2 separate regions of the Homo sapiens genome follow, and region 1 is linked to region 2. The links are contacts of gene promoters, found by promoter capture Hi-C in blood cells and fetal thymus (Javierre and others, 2016). All regions are on one chromosome and are shown on one strand. Each heading gives the region's core, a stretch centred on a gene start or on the middle of the fragment in contact. The rest is flanking DNA. Distances are from core to core; before and after follow the strand shown. Region 1 holds the start of LRRN2 (leucine rich repeat neuronal 2). Region 2 holds the start of MDM4 (MDM4 regulator of p53).

Evidence for each region. Contacts are between HindIII fragments. The CHiCAGO score rates a contact against its expected background, and 5 or more counts as called.
Region 1: the fragment with the promoter of LRRN2 here is called in contact with the fragment with the promoter of MDM4 in region 2 in 2 of 17 cell types (erythroblasts and fetal thymus); the score reaches 9.1 in erythroblasts.

The regions. Positions count from the first base shown.
Region 1 is chr1:204,683,662-204,687,533 of GRCh38, forward strand. It overlaps LRRN2 (leucine rich repeat neuronal 2), which reads right to left and starts at 2,077. Exons shown (of 2, transcript NM_201630.2): 1 at 1,659-2,077. The HindIII fragment of the contact is 5,264 bases long and covers 1-3,872 here.
Region 2 is chr1:204,513,681-204,517,972 of GRCh38, forward strand. MDM4 (MDM4 regulator of p53) reads left to right here and starts at 2,726. Exons shown (of 11, transcript NM_002393.5): 1 at 2,726-2,829. RefSeq lists enhancers at 1,208-2,119, 1,980-3,179, 2,120-3,030, 2,469-2,598, 2,609-2,688 and 1 more. The HindIII fragment of the contact is 1,369 bases long and covers 2,317-3,685 here.

The DNA of each region.
Region 1 (3,872 bases), core at 827-3,326, 170 kb after region 2:
CCAGACCCTGGGCAGACCTCAATCTCCCAGGCACTGAGGCCTTTAGTTCCATGCTTTGCAAATAATGAGGACCCATCCCAGGACCAGAGAGAGCCCTCCGCAAGAAGGAGAAGCCTGAGTCAGCACAGGGGAAGGAAGAAGGCCTAGGAGGCTCAGATCCCTAGCTCTGCCCTTCTGTTTCCATCGTTTCGCCACAACAGCACCTGGCCAGGAAAGTGGGTCAGGCCACCCACATGTGGCTTTTTCTGGTAGCCACAGGGCCCAAAGGCAAGGGGGCTCCAGTGCCCAGTGCAGAGCCCACCTCTACCCTCCATGCCCAGTGCTCTTTTTTGAAGGGATCTTTAAGAAGCAGTGGGCAATGGGAGGAGCTCCTGGCCTTCTTATTCAGGGACAAAACGCTGGGCCAGAGCCCATCCTAGACTGGCGGGAAAGGGGGGCACGGAGCCTGCCATCGGCCTGGGTGCATGGGGAGACCTACATCTTCCCCTATGACAGTGACCAAACTGGCAGGGAGTCACCTCTACTGCCCTGACCTAGGGAGGCTGTTCTCCTCACCACCCTAGGTCCTGGAGTTCTCAAGCAGAGGGCCTGTCAGTCCATCTCTGGCAACTGAGCGCTGTGCCCAGCCCACCCCCTCCAACCCTGCCAGTCGCCCAGTTAGAAGCTGCGTTGGCTCCAACAGATGGGAGCTGCGGCAGCCTGAGGAACAGAGCACAAAGCCCAGCTGACATTTTCCTTCCTGTTCGTTTGGGTGGGGGAGGAAGGGTAGGGAGCACAGTGCTACCCCCGGGGCCCCTCCCCAGGTTCCGGGTCTCCTGCACCTCTTTAGCTTCTCCGCTCGGCCCCAGATGGAGCTCAGTTCCCTCACCCCGCGGCTCCTCGCCGGCTGGGCAGCCAGAGCCTGCGCCACCCTTTGCCAGCAGGACAGACGGCCCACCTGTGGCTGGCCAGCCCATCCTGTCTCCTGGGTCCTGCGGTGGGCTCAGAGCCACCCTTCCGTTTCCGCTTCCCCCTGACCGAGTCCCCAGGCTGAGCCCCAGGCCGGCCCATCCCCCACCCCAAAGGTCCCATCCCAGGCTGCGGTCGGACCCCAGCCAGCCGGCCCGGGAGGAGCCTAGCTCCTGGTTCCAGATACTTCAGACAGACCCAAGGCCACCTTGTCCCTCCGCACAGACTCGCGAGCTCCAAGGAGGAGAAAGTCCCCAGGCTCTGGAGCGCTTCCAGCCTGCCAGTCCGCCCGTGTCACGCCCTCCCTAACCTCACTGCCACCTCTCGGCTCCTCCACATCTCCAGGGCCCCACTCTACCCAGCAACAGTTTGGGGGAGGTTCTGGCCTCTCCAGGCGAAGGCCCAGGCGCCCTCTCCCTGGCCGCTTCTGGGCATTCTCCAGCCCTCCGTCCCTCTGCCCCTCGGCCGCCTCCCTCTCCCAAGTCTCCGGCTCCCCCGCAGGCGTCTCGGCGGAAGGCAGCGGCCGGCCCTCCTCTGGCCCCCACCCGGGTCAGGCGGAGCTGCGGTGCCGGGGCAGGAGCCAGGAGCCCTGAGGCGGCTGCTCCGGCCGCTCCCGCCGCGTACGCCTCGGCCACGCCAGCGACCTCGGTGTCCACGATTCCCCGGCGGCGGCGGCGCTGCCCAGGTCAGCCCCGAAGCTGCACACTCACCCCGTGGGCGCCGGGCACCGTCTGCCGTCTGCTGCCCGCGCGGCCGCGCTCCGCTCGCCTTCCGCCCGGGGCCGGGCTGGGGACGCTGGTCCGCGCCCTCCCGCCGCGCGCGCCGTCTGCACAGGCCGGGGAGGCTCGGCGGGCGCCCTCCCCAACGTGGAGTTATCCTGGGAGCGGCTCCAGGGCCCAGCCGGTGAGGGCGATGGCAGAATCCCAATCCGTCCCCACCCCCTCTCCGCGCCCTGGGCGCGTCGCGGCCGGAGGCTGGCGGGCGAGAGCCAGGCGCTCCTTGAGAGCGCCGCGCGTTCGCAGGTGCCCGGAGCAGGCCCTCGCGGCGCCCGGCACCCCCTCCACGCGCGCCCCTCTTCCCGGCTTCGCGCTCGCCCTCCTCACTCGCTTCTCCGCCGCTCTCCCAACCTCCCCAGCCCACTCCGGTCGCCTCCTCCCAGTCTGCATGCCACGCCAACCCCCTCCAGTCCCGCTGCCATTTTAACTCCTGAGTGGCCAGAGGCCCCCTCTACCTAACGCACACACACCCGGGAGGAAGGAGTTGGGTGGGGCCAGACGCTAACGCTTGAGCTGTCCTTGTGCCTAGAGACACAAGGCTTGGCTGAGAGAAGGGGCACAGCCCTTGGGTCCGGGAAGAGAAGGGTTGGCTTCTCTCATACTGCCTCGGACCCTCTTGCAAAGGCCAGGAGACGAATGGGGAATTCAGCAGCTTTGTGAGGACAGGTGCAGCTCACAGTCACAGCATGCACCTAAGATCACATTTTTGCTTTGCATGGTGCTACCCTCCCGAAGTTAACAGTGGACTAAGGAATGTAGTGGGGTGGGTGAGAATTTGTCACTGGGCCCAGGCACCTCTCACCCTAAAGAATGGAGTGGAAGACCCCTTTAGTTGTCATGCTTTTCCAGCATTGCATCCTGAGCCGTGCAGCTCTAGCATTCTGGAAGATTCCGTCCTGGCTCTCAATGAAGGAGGTCAATTTCAGTCAGGAACTGGCAGGCCCAGTTAGGGGTTTGGCTTCAGGGTTCCCCACTCTGCCAGCTGGACATCATGAAGACTGGGGGAGGAAAGTAAGAAGGTGCCAAAGGTGGGTGCTAGGCTGCTGCCTGGTGGCTTAGAAAAGCTGGGTGACTGCCACTAGAGGAGGGCAAAGGCCCAATGCCCAACACCCATGCCTTGGTGGGGACTTCAGCCTGGACCACTCAGAACAGACATCACAAACTCGGCTCCATGGCAGGCCACACCCTACTGATGGGTCTGGACCAGAGCCTGCAGAACCAACAACAGGGGAATGGATGAGGTGGAGGCCAAGGTGTGGAGTCCTGTGAGGAGTGGCTTCCCTGGGCTGCCTGCCGTCATCCAGTGCTTGAGCTTCTGGCCCTGTCTTTTCCAAGGGTACAGCCAGTGGTGACTGCCATGCCTGGTGGCTTTTGTGAAGTTGGCTTGAAGGTCTGAGTTCTGTATGCACAGAGGGGATTCTCACCTTCATATATTGAATGAGCACATATTAAGTTCCCACTAAACCACCCCCATGTTCCCACTCTCCACCCCTGCTACGGAGCATAATGGCCTCAAGGAGCTCAGAGTGACAGGTTGGAACTATATGAAACCAATTTTAATATTTCAAGACGATGGAAGTGCCATAGAAATACAAAAAGAAACCACCTTAATGGACTAGCATTATTCACAAAAGGTTTAACGGAGGAGCTGAGTCTCCAACTGAGCCTAGTTGGAGGGATAGGATTTGAACTGGAAGAGAATATGGGGACCAGCAAAGGCAGGAAAGTGGAGACAAGCAGAGTAGAATGGGTTGTCTGGAGGGTAGGGGGCAAGGGAGGAAAATTATAGAGCTACTATTAGATGCCAGCCTTTTCTCATCTCTGTCATCTTAGACTCTGAGTTGACTAATATCCCCTTTTAACAGACCGGGGGATGGAGGCCCAGATCGTTTAAGGCAGTAGCCCAAAATCTGTAGGCAGAATGTGAGACCTCATTTTCACAGTGCGACAATGCCACATTGAGTATACAGGGTGGGAGCAGCTGATGAAGGGCCCGAATTGCCAGGCTCAGCAGTTTATCTGTGGACCCATCCTCAGGTGATTTGGGATGAAAGAGGCAGGAGGATGGGAGACTATTGAGGTAGCTGTTGCAGGAATCTAGGAGGAGGGGAGCAGTGAGAATAGAGTAAATGCATGGGCCTTTGTAAA
Region 2 (4,292 bases), core at 1,476-3,975:
AGACCAGACTGGGCGACATAGTAAGACCCTGTGTCTATTTTTTTAAAAAAATTAGAAGATGAGCAATTACTCACAAATCAGTGTCAACCACGATGGGAAAAACTCTATTCTTCACCATGGCCTCGTCAACATATTTATCAACGTTTTGTTTTTTTTGATTGACTGAGATAGAGTCTGGCTCCATCACCCAGGCTAGAGTGCAGTGGAGCAATCTCGACTCACTGCAATCTCCTCCTCCGGGTTCAAGCAATTCTCCTCCCTCAGCCTCCCGAGTAGCTGGGATTATAGGCGCCTACCACTGCACCCGGCTAATCTTTTTTGTATCTTTAGACAGTGTTTTACCATGTTGGCCAGGCTAGTCTCGAACTTCTGACCTCACGTGATCCACCTGCCTCGACCTCCCAAAGTGCTGGGATTACAGGCATAAGCCACTGCGCCGGGCCCTCGAGATTTTAAATGAAGACGAATTAAAGATGTTGGTCAATATTTTGCCCAAATTGAAAAGGCTTATCTCTCTTAACCTAGAGGAGGTTAACTGCAGCTCATCAATCATTGCACTTACCACATTCTTTTTACCTGGACAGTCTGATTCCTCCACTAGACAGATTTCAGGTCTTGTTTTGGAATCCTCTAGATTGGTGCTTGGCACAAGTAGGATGCTCAGCTAATTAATTTTTTTTTTTTTTTTTTTTTTTTTTTTTTTGTAGAGATGGTGTTCTCGCTTTCTTGCCCAGGCTGGTCTTGAACTCCTGGGCTTAAACGATCCTCCCACCTTGGCCTCCCAAAGGGTTGGGATTACAGGTGTGAGCCACTGCACCTGGCCTCAACAAATACCTGTTGATCTCACACAAACTGAATTGCATGAACAGATCATATTCCAAGGCTCCAGGAGACATTAGGAAAGGATCCAAACTAACCAGATGCTATTTAAAAGTTACAAAAAAAAAATTCCTGTTGAAAGTTTTAAAAAATACTAATTGCACAAAAGGACAGGGGAAATAGTTGACAGTGGTTCACCTAAAAAAGCACCCTTGACCTTTTTTTTTTTTTTTTTGTGAGTGAGGTGGTTGCAGATTTCTATGAAAAAGAAGTTAATTCTTCAGCTCCTTAATGGAACCCTGGATCTCCCAGCTATGCAGGAGGTTATGCTAGAAGTAGAACAAAGCGGAATGTACAAATTTAAGGAAGGTTACTGCCCTGTGTTCTTTTGCATGGGTCTGTATCTAGCATTGGGAGCCAGGTTTTGTTGTTGCTTATTGGGAGAGATAAGAATGGTATATACACAAATAACTAAAAAAAAAATACGTGGTAAATGCTAAAAGACAGGTGCAAAGAACACTGAGATGGAGCTTTCTTGGGTTACACAGCCAGTTTTAATGTTTCCTAATATAGAAGAGCTTTCAACAAACCTCTCAGGCAGGCTGTCTTCAAATGACATTACTTCCCCCAAATACCTAATTTCATTTATTTCAGAACAACTCTAAATGTTAGAGGATTTTCTGAGCTTAAAAATACTGCCTTGTAATTTCTATTGGTTTTAGTTCTGCACTTTGGAGAAGAGAATAAGGCTCCGTTATTTCCAATATTATACTATTCAGTTATTTGAAGACAGCTTCCAATTTCTATGCTCAACCCTTTCCCTCTTTTTTTTTTTTTTTTTTTTTGAGATGCAGTTTCGCTCTTGTCGCCCAGGCTGGAGTGCAATGGCGCTATCTCGGCTCACTGCAACCTCCGCCACCCGGGTTCAAACGATTCTCCTGCCTCGGCCTCCTAAGTAGCTGGGATTACAGGTGACCGCCACCATGCCCCGCTAATTTTTTGTATTTTTAGTAGAAACGGGGGTTTCGCCATGTTGGGCAGGATGGTCTCGAACTGCTGACCTCAGGTGATCCGCCCGCCTCGGCCTCCCAAAGTGCGCTGGGATTACAGGGGAGAGCCACTGCGCCCGGCCTCCCTCGTTTATATGCAGGTTAAAAACTCCCTTGAGCCTTCAACTATTTCTTTTTCTTTTTTTTTTTTTTTTTTGAGGAGTTTCGCTCTTGTTGCCCAGGCTGGAATGGCGCTATCTCGGCTCACTGCAACCTCCGCCTCCCAAGTTCAAACGATTCTCCTGAGTAGCTGGGATTACAGGCATGCGCCACCACACCCGACTAATTTTGTATTTTTAGTAGAAACAGGGTTTCACCATATTGGTCAGACTGGTCTCGAACTCCTGACCTCAGGTGATCCGCCTGCCTTAGGCCTCCCAAAGTGCTGGGATTACAGGCGTGAGCCACAGCGGCTGGTGCTTTCAACTATTTATTTGACATGGCTTCAAGCTTCCTTGCCACCCTAGTGCCGCCATCGCTCCGTTTCCCTTCCCTACCACCCTTGGGGAGTAAGGGTGAGGACTGGGGAATGGCAGAGGAAGCGTAGTTTTTCCGAAGAGCTGAAGGCAGCCTGTGATTATGACCTTAGCTCTTCCTCTTCTCTGTTTTCTGATCTCCTAATACACGTCTGTAAATATCACAAGACCCTGCAAGTCCCTCACTTATTATCTCTTCAAATCTGACGACTTTCAACCGTTCGGGCCCCACGACTCTCTCCCCGGACTAGGATCTACTCTATGGTAGTGAGCTCAGCCTTTCTAGCTCTCTAGTCCTCCCATTGCTCCATCTATGGTTTCCGGAGGCCTCACCGGAAGCCCTCGTGTGAGGCCGTGTGGGAGGCCGGAAGTTGCGGCTTCATTACTCGCCATTTCAAAATGCTGCCGAGGCCCTAGGATCTGTGACTGCCACCCCTCCCCCCACCCGGGCTCGGCGGGGGAGCGACTCATGGAGCTGCCGTAAGGTGTGGCTCTTGGCCTTCGTCGGCGGGGTGCCGGGAGCGGGAGCTGGAGAGTGAGGAGCAGGCGGCCGTACCGCCAGTTGTGCGGGTAGCGGGCGGGAGGAGCTTGAGAGGTGGGTCGGGCGGCGTGGGGAAGGCCGCGCCAGGCGGAAGAAGGGCTCGGGGGGAGGGGAAGAGTTGTGGGATGAGGGCTCGCGGAAGATAAAAGTGGAGGTGGGGTGACGTGAAGTAACTTTGGCCAACAGGTGACAAACCTAAAGTCGACGTAGTTGGATTGAGTTTAACTGGACACAACATTTGAGGACTGTTGAGGCAATTTGGAGAAAGGAGGTGGGAGAGAGGGAACCGGGTAGAATGACATTGACGTGTCTTAAGTTTTTAAGTTAGTTTTTAGGTCTGCGGACAGTCTACCTTAGAGGCACTTGAGTGCTTGTTTGAAAATGCTTGTTTTGGCTTGGCGCGGTGGCTCACGCCTGTAATCCCAGCACTTCAGGAGGCCGAGGTGGGTGGATCTACCTGAGGACAGGAGTTCGAGACCAACCTGGCCAACCTGGTGAAACCCCGTCTCTAGTAAAAATACAAAAATATTAGATGTGTGTGGTGGCGCATGCCTGTAATCCTAGCTACTCGGGAGGCTGAGGCAGGAGAATCACTTGAATCCGTGGGCGGGGGTTGCAGTGAGTCGAGATCGCGCCACTGCACTCCAGCTTGGGCTACAGAGGGAGATTCCGTCTCAAAAAAAAAAAAAGAAAAAATGTTCGTTTTGGGGCCACACTGAAACCTACAGACAGTATCGAGATGGGGCTCAGAGAAATATATTTTAATGAGCACACCTCCCAGTGATTTTTGTATACCTTAAAGCTTGAAAACCACAGGTTTTTTTGGTTGTGTTTTTGTTTTGTTTTTGTTTTTTTTGAGTGGAGTTTCGCTCTTTTTGCCCAGGCTGGCGTGCAGTGGCGCGATCTTGGCTCACTGCAACTTCTGCCTCACGGGTTCAAGTGATTCTTCTGCCTCAGCCTCCCGGGTCGCTGGGATTACAGGTGTGCGCCACCACGCCTGGCTAATTTTGTGTTTTATTAGAGATGAGGTTTCACCAGGTTGGCCAGGCTGTTCTCGAACTCCAGACCTCAGGTGATCCGCCCACCTCGGCCTCCGAAAGTGTTGGGATTACAGGCGTGAGCCACCGTGCCCGGCCGAAAACCACAGTTTAAAAGCAACACCCGGAGAAAATGCTGCAGCTCTGTGCTGTTGGCACGTGGAACTAGTATCTGTCAAAGATACTTGGAACCTCTTGGTGTTAAGTATTACTGTATCTCAGTTTAGATTTAGTCTTCTCTCTCCTCATACATTTTTTTTTTAATAGATGGGATTTCGGCCAGGCCCAGTGGCTCACACCTTTAATCCCAGCACTTTGGGAGGCCAAGGGGGCAGGTTTGCTTGAGTCTCGGAGTTCGACACCAGCCTAG